3 separate regions of the Homo sapiens genome follow, and all the other regions are linked to region 3. The links are contacts of gene promoters, found by promoter capture Hi-C in human tissues and cell types (Jung and others, 2019). All regions are on one chromosome and are shown on one strand. The core of a region is centred on a gene start or on the middle of the fragment in contact, and the rest is flanking DNA. Distances in the headings are between cores, read along the strand shown.

The links. The method cuts DNA at HindIII sites, captures the fragments that hold promoters and counts their contacts. A contact is called where the count stands out against the background at its distance.
Region 1: a contact is called between a fragment that was not itself captured here and the fragment with the promoter of CD302 in region 3, in 1 of the 25 tissues and cell types used here (lymphoblastoid cells).
Region 2: a fragment that was not itself captured here is called in contact with the fragment with the promoter of CD302 in region 3 in 1 of the 25 tissues and cell types used here (lymphoblastoid cells).

Annotation. Positions count from the first base shown.
Region 1 is chr2:159,963,573-159,967,096 of GRCh38, reverse strand. The region is part of intron 20 of PLA2R1 (phospholipase A2 receptor 1); the gene reads left to right. Among named protein-coding and RNA genes, the nearest start is that of LY75-CD302, 61 kb to the right of the region's middle. The HindIII fragment of the contact is 7,152 bases long and covers 1-3,524 here.
Region 2 is chr2:159,939,259-159,942,999 of GRCh38, reverse strand. It overlaps PLA2R1 (phospholipase A2 receptor 1), which reads left to right. Exons shown (of 30, transcript NM_007366.5): 29 at 841-873; 30 at 1,008-3,741. The coding sequence ends at 1,222. Among named protein-coding and RNA genes, the nearest start is that of LY75-CD302, 36 kb to the right of the region's middle. RefSeq lists an enhancer at 2,734-2,783. The HindIII fragment of the contact is 6,614 bases long and covers 1-3,741 here.
Region 3 is chr2:159,796,281-159,799,598 of GRCh38, reverse strand. CD302 (CD302 molecule) reads left to right here and starts at 1,391. Exons shown (of 6, transcript NM_014880.5): 1 at 1,391-1,467. The coding sequence starts at 1,401. All of the region lies in intron 33 of LY75-CD302 (LY75-CD302 readthrough), which reads left to right. It overlaps LOC124906083 (a long non-coding RNA gene), which reads right to left. Exons shown (of 2, transcript XR_007087273.1): 1 at 1,647-3,318; 2 at 1-780. The HindIII fragment of the contact is 5,989 bases long and covers 1-2,517 here.

The DNA.
Region 1 (3,524 bases), core at 691-3,190, 170 kb before region 3:
TCCATCTCCTACTCTTGTGTTTTCCCTGCCTGGAGCCGGCATAGAGCTCTGCCCACTAGTGAATTGAGGGACTAATAACTTAGCTTGGTCAATGTCATCTTAAGCCTCATAAAGCTGGTGCTTCCATGCAGATTTGAATTAAGAAAAAAAAAATTGCCAGTGGGGATATTTTAAACCAGATTTATTATTTCTGATGCTGCCTTCAATTAAGGCCTAGTCTCCCTCCACTCTTCATATTTTATAATAAAATAACTTTATAGGCCTTAGGTGGAAGTAATTAAAATGCATCCCAAATTATAATTGTTTAACTCTTAGAAAATTAAAAAACCCAAACTGTGTCATCATTTCATATGCTAATATGAAATTCCTCTTCAATTGTGGACAGCCAATTTTTAATCTAAGTGTTCAGTTATATTGGCAGGGCTTTCTCTCCTTTGTGATCTTCCTCCCATTGTTAATTTGAGAAATGAGGCCACTTGGATTTTTCACACATTCATTGAGTACCCACCAGACATTTGGCACTGACTTTTAAATTTTTTTAATATCTGGTAAATACACACAATATAGAATTCACCATTCTAGCCATTTTTGTCTACTGTTTACTAGTGTTAAGTATCACATACTCACACTGTCATTCAACAAATCTCCAGACCTTTTCCATCTTGCAAAACTGAAACTGTACCCATTAAACGACTCCCTGTTCTTCCTACTCTGAACCCCTTGGCAACTGCTGTTCTACTTTCTGTGTCTTTGAAATTGACTAATTTAGATACCTCATGTAAGTGGAATCAGACAGTATTTGCCTTTTTGTGACTGGCTTATTTCAGTTAGCATAATGTCCTCAAGGTTCACCCACACTGGCATGCGACAGGACTTCCTTTTGACGGTTGGACAATATTCCATTGTATGGATATACTACATTTTGTTTATCCAGTCATCCATTGGTGGACATTTGAGTTACGTCCCCCCTTAGCTAATTGATTGTATGTTTATTTCTTATATCACTGAATTTTAAAAATATATAGAATTACTATCCTCATTTTACATATGAGAAGACAGATGCTAACAAAATTGTGTGACTTTTCTGAAACTTCACAGTGAATACGCATCAGGCCAAGACGCACTTTTTGTTTTCTGACCCTGAGTCTGGTGGTCTTGCCCCTTTCCTATGCCTGCCACTTCACGTTGGCACTTAAGGACTGCCACTCCAGAAATGCAAATTAAAACAACAATGAGTGATTTGCCACTGCACAGCTACTAGAACGGCCCAAATCCAGAGCACTGACAACACTACATGCTGGCAAGGAGGCCGAACAACAGGAGCTCTCATTCACTCCTGGTGGGAATGCAGAATGGTACGGCCACTGTGGGAGACAGTTTGGCAGTTTCTTACAAAACTAAACATACTTTTACCATTTGATCCAGCAATCACACTCCTTGGTATTTACCCAAAGGAGTTGAAAACTTATGTATATGTAAAAACCTGTCCATGAATATTTATAACATCTTTATTCTTAATTGCCAAAACTTGGAAGCAATCAAGATGTCCCTAGTAGGTGAATAAATAAACTGGTACAACCACACAATGGAATATTACTCAGTGCTAAAAAGAAATTAGCTATCAAGCCTTTAAAACACATGGAGGAAACTTAAATTCATATTACTAAGTGAAAGAAGCCAATCTGAAAAGCCTACAATACTGTATGATTCCAACTATATGACATTCTGGAAAAGACAAAACTAGAGAGACAGTAAAAAGATCAGTGGTTGCCAGGTGTTGCAGGGAGGGAAGGATGAAGTTGTGGAAGATTCTTAGGGCAGTGAAAATTCTCTGTATGATAGCACAATGGTGGATGCATGTCACTAGACATTTGTACAAACTCATAGAATGTACAACACAAAGAGTGAACCCTAATGTAAACTATGGACTTTGGGTGGTTATGATGTGTTAATGCAGGTTCATCGATTGTAACAGATGTACCATTCTGGGGTGATGGGGCATGTGATAATGCGGGAGGCTGTGTATGTGTGGATCAGGTGGGAAATCTCTGTACCTTCCTGGTTTTTTTTGAGATGGACTCTCAGTCTGTCACTCAGGCTGAAGTGCAGTGACATGATCTCCCCTCACTGCAACCTTTATCTCCCAGGTTCAAGTGATTCTCTTGCCTCAGCCTCCCAGGTAGCTGGGGTTACAGGTGCCTGCCACCACGCCTGACTAATTTTTGTATTTTTAGTAGAAACGGGGTTTCATCATGCCAGGCTGGTCTCAAACTCCTGACCTCAGGTGATCCGCCCGCCTTGGTCTCCCAAAGTTGTACCTTCCTCTTAACTTTGCTGTGAACCTAAAACTGCTCTTTAAAAAATGAAGTATTTAATAATTTTTTTTTAAAAAAAAGGGTTGCCATGTCAGCTTAGCCCTATGACACAGTGAGCTCAGTGGCACCATGAGATATTTTCTAGAATAGTATAATTTACTCTAAAACTTTACTATAGTAATGAGGTACACTATTTTTTAATCATTGATACTTTCTGTATACTTCCTATTTTCTCAAACTATAAAATCTTTCTACCAGGTATAAATTATTTTCACATTTTAGTATGAGAAACTTGTAGCTAATATTCAATAAGACACTGAGTGTTACTAAGTCTTTTATTAAAACCTTTGGCAATTAGTTTTTTAAAGCATCTTTATGGTCCTAAATAATGTAACATAACATTTGCCATTTTAACCATTATTGAGTGTACAATTCAATGGCATTAATTACATGCACAATGTTATACAACCATCATCTCTATTTCCAAAACATTCTCACTATCCCAAACAGAAACTCTGTAACCATTAAGCACTAACTTCCTGTTCCCCATCCCCTGGTAACCTCTAATCTATTCTCTATCCCTGTGAATGTGCCTATTCTAGATATTTCATATTAGCGAACTCATACAATATTTGTCCTTGTGTCTGGCCTATTCGCATGATGTTTTCAAGGTTCATTTGTGCTTTAGCATATATCAAAATTGCCTTCCTTCTTGTGGCTGAATAATATTCCTGTGTGGCACGGGCGTGTGTGTGTGTGTGAATATTGCATATTTTGTTTATTCATTCATCTGTTGATGCGCACTTGGGTTGTTTTCACCTTTTGACTATTGTGAATAATGCTTCAATGAGCATTGGTGTGTAAGTCTCTGTTTGAGTCCCTATTTTCAATTCTTTTGAATGTATACCTACGAATAGAATTGCTGGGTCATATGGTAACTCAGTAGTTAGCTTTTTGAGGAACTGACAAATGTTCTTCCACAGCGACCAAACCATTTTACAATCCTGCTAGCCGTGTGTGAGGGTTTCAATTTCTCCACATCTTTGCCAACTCTGGCTATTATATAGCCATCCTAGAACACGTTAGGTGTTATTTCATTGTGATTTCGATTTGCATTTCTCTATTATCTGATGAAGTTGAGCATCGTTTCATGTGCTTGTTAGCCATTTGTTTATCTTCTTTGGAAAAATGTCTATTAAAGTCCTTTGT
Region 2 (3,741 bases), core at 1,003-3,502, 140 kb before region 3:
ACTTCGCCTCAAAAAAAAAAAAAAAAGAACAAGTCTGGTTTTAAAAGTATGGTTTTGCTATTAGTAACAGTGTTGTGATTTTTTTCATGTCTATCAGAGTGAATGAGCATCAGTAGGACATCAAGGCAGTTCTTTTGCTCACAAATCCATTTCTTCATCTTCCTCTGGTTCATTCTCTATACCTTTCTCTGGATCTTTACCTAGATCAAAAATAGAAGAGTTCACATTTTGATATAACATCTACTTAAAAGATGTGTTTTTACAGTAGAAAGTTTTAAAACAGAAACTCTCTAACTTTTTGGATGGAGAAGCTGTTGCTCATTCCCCAAGACCCATGAGATCACAAAGGTGAGAAGATGCTGATTTAAAAATCCTTACAAAGAGTCAGGCAGATTATCATTGCTGGACAAACTCCATATAAGATCCCAACAAAACTGTGAGTTCCTTGTATGCAGGGTTTATATTTTACTCTATATTTATTGCAGCACAGTGCTGGGACTGAATAGAAACTTCTTGGCTTAAAAAAAACAAGCAGGGTGTATGTTTGTGAGCACTAATAACGATGATTACAATAAATCAAAGGTCAGCAAACTTTTTCTGTAAAGGGCCAGCTAGTAAACATTTTAGGCTTTGGGAGCCATATGGTCTCTGTTACATGCCATTGTAGCAGGAAAGCAGCTGTAACAATACATCAATGAATGAGTGTGGCTAAGTTCCAGTAAAACATTTTTTATAAAAATAGGGTCATGGGCCATAGTTTGCTGATCCCTGAGTAAGTAATGACATATTTTTGCTGAATTAAAAGAAAAACCTCATTTTAATTTTTGTATTTGATTTTAGATATTCACACTGCAGAGGCGCTGCCAGAAAAAGGTACGTTTGAAACCATACAAAACATTTTGATTTTTCTTAGAAATAATAAGATAGAAAGCAGCTGTATGACAGTATCTATATTACTTCATCGCCACTGAAGTTTTTCTTTTTTTAAGAAAAATATCTTCTTTCAGGACCAAGTCACAGCATCATTCCTCTTGCGGTTGTACTGACACTGATAGTCATTGTGGCCATTTGCACACTTTCCTTCTGCATATACAAGCATAACGGTGGCTTCTTCAGGAGACTTGCAGGGTTTCGGAATCCTTACTATCCTGCAACCAACTTTAGTACAGTATATTTAGAAGAAAATATTCTCATTTCTGATCTTGAGAAGAGTGACCAATAATAATGAGGTCAGAGAATGCCACAGACACCAGGGTAAGTAAAGAAGACTAAACAGGAGTCTCATCTGTCTTTCCCTTTACAGCACAGATGCCATTAGAATGTGAATTGGGTCACTATTTTAATTATTCTTGAAGTGATTACTGGTTTTGAATCTTAACCAAATCAGATGGGTTTTGATTTATTCATTTCCCTAAACTGTGATCCATTCTTAAAAGGGGTAAATTATGCATTGGTTATTTTTCAGAAAGACAAGAACTATTAAAAGAAACTCCCTATTGAAAACTCTGAAATCAATGCGAATAATAGTTTTTGCATTAATGTATCTCTACTAAAATTTGGGGGAATTTTAAAACTAATCTGGTATCTATTCAGACATTTACCTGCACTCGTACCATTAAGAAAGACAGAAAGAAGCAAAAAAAAATTAATCTTGTATATGAGAGGAAAAGGAAAGGGCTTCTGAGAGGATTCTTAGTTGTTTCTTTTGAATTCACTTTTAATAGCAGGATTTGGAAAATACTAATTTCTGTGCTTAAGGGTCACAGGTTCTGGGCTCTCAACTGATATTTAAGGTGACATTCATTTTTATTAGGTCTAACATCTCAAGCTAAAGGAGAAAGAAAAATACCTTCTTTTAAATGGCAAAGACCTTCATTAGCAGCACACTTTTATAAACAACCATATAGTTAAAATGTGGCCTTAAACTTTCAATTACTAAATGATGATTAAGTTGGATATTTTAAAATGTCTTATACATAAGCTTAAAGTAATATATTGAAACTTTAACAGTTGTACTGTTAAAACTCATGGACTTTCTGAAAAACTAAATATATAAAATAATATGTAACACTCTTAATAACTGGAAGATATAAAATGTAACTTGGATTTAAAGGAGAAGAGCTAAAGATCTGAATTATAGTCTCATTAGAACCAGACAGATGTTGTTGAGAAGTACTAAATAAATTAGTAATCTAGATATCTTTATTATGTAAATGAGTTTAGGTGTTCTATTTAATAAACTATTTTCTGGGAACGATCTCCTTTTATATTAGTCTAGTTAGTGTAGATGGTAAATAATGATTATGATACTGTCTGTAAATAAAAAATTACAGATTTTATTTTCCTTTATTAGTTCCTTATAAAGAAAACAGCTTCATAATCAATATCTAAAAATTTACTCATTACATAACTGTTTATTGAATTTTATCAAGAAAAAAGTGTACTGAGCATGGTGGCACGCACCTGTAGTCCCAGCTACTTAGGAGGCTGAGGGAAGAGGATCAACTGAGCCCAGAAGTTGAAGGCTGCAGTGAGCTATGGTTGCACCACTGCACTCCTGCCTGGGCAACTGAATGAGACCCCACCTCAAAAAAGTGCTGTTCTAGAAACAGAGGTACTAAGGTGAGCAACTTGGGGTAAGGGCTATCTTTTCATGCCACTTATTTTCTAATGAGGGAAAATTGACAGTAACTCAGTAAAGAAATGCATATGCATAAAATAGCAAGTGGTTATGAAAATGAAGTAAGGTTCCATGATAGAGAGAAACTGGGGGACTCTCAGGGCCTCCCTGAGAGTGTGCATTTTAATTATTACAACCAACTGCCTCAAAACCAGTGGCCACTAATCACAAGGGGGAGCTCTGAGAGAAAGTATGAATGAATTTCTAAGAGGCAAACCATCATCATTAGAAATACAATTTGAAGAGCATACCACTAAGAATGGAATCCTTGTGGCCTGCAACAGTTAATCCAGCTTCCAAAAGCAGCTCTTTGCTACTGTTATAATAATTTACACACTGGGACAGTCTACCTCCATAATTTTTTTAAGTATTGGGACTTCATTTTTTAAAAGATATTATATTATGTGGCAGTTGCATATTTATGACTCAAAAAATAATTGGCTTGAACTCACCAGATGGTATAAAAGCCCAATTTAACCATCTTTTGAGTGGAATTAAAGTTCTGTTCTTTTCAATGGACTTGGTAAAAACTGCTAATCAACCAGCCTTCCAGTCAAGGTATATAGTCACACATAATAATTTGACAAAATACACCATTAGGAAAGTGATTTTGCAGAAAGAAGCTGTATTGCTTCTCAGTGCTCCATACTTTGATGTTTAGTATTGAACAACATCTCCAGATAATCTGGACCCATGGACAGATCACACACTTCTTGCCATTACTGAATTTGCAGAAATAGTACTGAAGTATTCTGCTACATTTTTATATTTGCATTTTTTTTGAAACTTTTTTTCATTTTTTTTTTTTTTTTTTGGAGATGGAGTCTTGCTCTGTTGCCAGGCAGGAGTACAGTGGCATGATCTCAGCTCACTGCAACCTTCAACTGCCTGGTTCGAGCAAGTTTCCTGCCTCAGCCTCCCGAGTAGCTGTGATTACAGGCACATGCCACCATGCCCAGCTAATTTTTGTATTTTTAGTAGAGACAGGGTTTCACCATGTTGTCCAGGATGGTCTCGATCTCCTGATCTCGTGATCCACCCGCCCCAGCCTCCCAAAGTGC
Region 3 (3,318 bases), core at 142-2,641:
TGTGCAGGTTTTTGTGTGTATGTAAGTTTTTAACTCATTTGGATAAATACCAAGGAGTTGTGATTGCTAGATGGTATGGTAAGAGTACGTTTAGTTTTGGAAGAAGCTTCCAAATTGTCTTCCAAAGTGGCTGTACCATTTTGCATTTGCACCAGCATTGAATGAGAGTTCTTTTTGCTCCACATCTTTGCCAGCATGTGGTCTTGTCAGTGTTTTTGGATTCTGGTATCTAATAGGTATGTAGTGGTATTTCATTTTTGTTTTCATATACAATTCAGCAATGACATATGATGTTGAGCATCTTTTCATCTATTTGCCATTATATAACTTCTTTGATGACGTGTGTATTCAGATCATCTGACCATTTTTTTTAACTGGGTCATTTGTTTTCACGTTGTTGAGTTTAGACTTGATTTTATAGAACTCTTTTGCCAATGACATGAGGCTTAAACAAGCACCCTTGCTTGACCCTGGCTAGTGTTGTCCAGAGGCCCTCATGGGTGAAGTATAATTGCACAGTTTATGCATACATTGTAGCAAACATAGCTTAAAGACTCTTCATCCAGGAGCTGGTAACAGAGAAAAGTTGTCTAAGAGACATAGTCCACTGAAAGGGGTCTTTGAAAAGGAGGATTCTGGCCAGTAGATCCAAAGAAGAAGGCTGGCAAACGCCACCTTAACCAACTGATCCAAGTTAACATCAGTGATGAGACATCGACATCTTGTCCTTCTCGAGCACGTACATCACTTCTGGGGAACTCTTTCCCAAAAAAGCGCAACCTGAATCCAATTAGAAGGAAATGTCAGACAAAATGAAACTGAGGGACATTCTACAAAACGACTGGCCAGTACTTTTTAAATGTGGTTTGATCGTGAAAGAAAAAGAATGACAGAGAACCGTCCTAGATTAAAGGGAGACTAAGGAGACACGACATGCAATGTATGATCCTGGATTGAATCTTGGAACAGAAAAGGACCCTTAGAGGGGCAATTAATGAAATGTGGTAAGTGCTGTAGATTAGCTAATCGCATTATCCCAGTGCGAGTGCCCTGTGTTTGATCACTGCACTGGCGTTATATACAATGTCAATATTTAGAGAAGCTGGCTGAAGGGTTACGGAAATCTCTTGTGCTGTTTTTGCAACATTTTCGAAAGTCCTAAATTATTTCAATTCAAATGAAAAGTTTAAAAAACAAAAATTAGAAGTTCCAGAAGGCCGCGCGCCAGCCGCTCCTGCGGGACGGGACACCCGGGTTCTCCTGGTGGGAGCCCCCAGTGCCGTTCACGTTCCGCCCGGGGGGGGGATTAAACTCGCACGCGAGAAGCACCGCCCCCGCTCCCGCCCCGCCCCGCTCCTCTCCGGCCGCGCAGCCGCTGCCGCCCACCCGCACCCGCCGTCATGCTCCGGGCCGCGCTGCCCGCGCTCCTGCTGCCGTTGCTGGGCCTCGCCGCTGCTGCCGTCGCGGGTAAGCCCTTACGTAGTCCCTCGCCGGGACCGTGCGCGACCGCCTTCGCCCCCTTCCCAACGCACGCTCTTCGTCCCCGCGCACCCGAGGGCGGCCCGCAGACGCAACACCCGGCCGGCCATCCCGCCCTTCCCTGCACGCCCGTCCCCCGTGGGTCCTGGCTCCGGGTCACCTCTCACCCGCCTGCCCTCGGGGAGGGGAGGTGGCCGAGAATAAGGGAGGGCTCTGTCTTCCTCGGAGTCCACATCCTCACCGCAGACCCCACTCCGCGGGGAGGGAACCCCCAAATTAGGCCAGTTGGCCGGAGAACTGAGGGACTTGGAGTCGCACGACGGGCGCCGTTTCAGGGCAATTTCGGGCTGAAATGAGAAGCGGGGACGTTGGTGGCGATTTCCCCTGCTGGTGCGCGGCCGGAGTGGGGTTGCTGGGATGGGGGTGGGGGCCGGAGGAAGTAGGCCCTCTTTTGCAAGCAGCGCTGTTTGTCTAGTTGGTTGGTGTTCAAGTTGTTTAAACAGGAAAACAGTTCAGCCAAATAACCCCTGGATGGAAGAGGAACGGGAATAGGCAAAGCTTGGATTTCACTGAAATCAAGGAGTTTTAAAGTTCTAGTCTGCTGTTGTGCAAGTGACATCTGAAAAATCACACACGTGATCATTCATTTACAAAACGACTCGTGAGGAAAATGCACAATTCTATTGACCGTGGTCTTTATTTTTAAAAAATTTCCATACAAGCATGTCAAAAATATGTGGATGGGGAGACTCTGGAGAACACAGACTTCCAAAAACACCACTGACTGAATAATTCCAGGAATTAAAGAGCAAAATAAACAAGAACTAAATGAGTACTTGTGTGGGCTTAAATAAAGTGCAAGAGATTTAAATAAAATGCAAGAGATTCCCCCCCCCCACCCCTTGCCCCAGATTTCACTGCGTTTTTATAATAACTGCCTGCTCGAAGTCTACTGACAGGAATATTTCAGTGGACCTCAGTGTTGGAGGCAGCAGCAGCTCAGAACTTGGATACAAACCCAAGGTTCCTTTCTTGAAAACTTCTGTGGACCTGCATTTATGACTGGTTGTGACATCTGCTGCCTATCAAAGGGGCAGAAACAAGATGTGCCCATGTTCACATTGTTCAGACTGGGAACATTAATTTTGTCTAAGACAAAGCTGGGCTGTCTCTGAACCCTCCTTCTGCACACCCTCATTTTGCGAGCCAGTAACATCTCAACTCTCATGTAAACCACCCTCTGCGAGGCTGTGCATTTGTACTTTAGGCTAGTCGAATTTTCTTGTCAGATTTTTCTTTCTTGTCAGACTTTTAAAGAAAATCAGTTTCTAGATTTTGGTATGTCTCTTCTTCAGTGAAGCTGTTTTGACCAGCAATAGAGGGCAAATTTCCCTTTGGAAATTTTTGTGCATTTCCTTTGATAAGTCCAGTGTGGATCAATAGGCTTTTCAAGAGCTTTAGAAAAGTGCATGATGAATAAATTAATGTTAATTAATCAGCTCCTCCCAGTCAGGAAGCTTTAAGGATTAATTTGGAAATGAGTGTGAGCTTTGACCTAGCTAGTTAACCAACTTATCTGCACTTCAGTAAAACAGAGATAATACTTACTCATGGGGCTATTGGGAGCATTAAGTGGGAACTCCACGTCTAGTCCCTATTACAGGCGTGGTTCATCTTGGTTTCCTTCCCTTTATTCTCTTCATACAAAATGAAGGGTAATTGTTGCAACCAGAAAACGTATGAATACCACCTTATGTATATTGGATGTTTATGGTTACTGAACACATTCATATGTATGCTAATGTTATAGGGCTGAAAAACTAAGTGTGTTTTTCATAA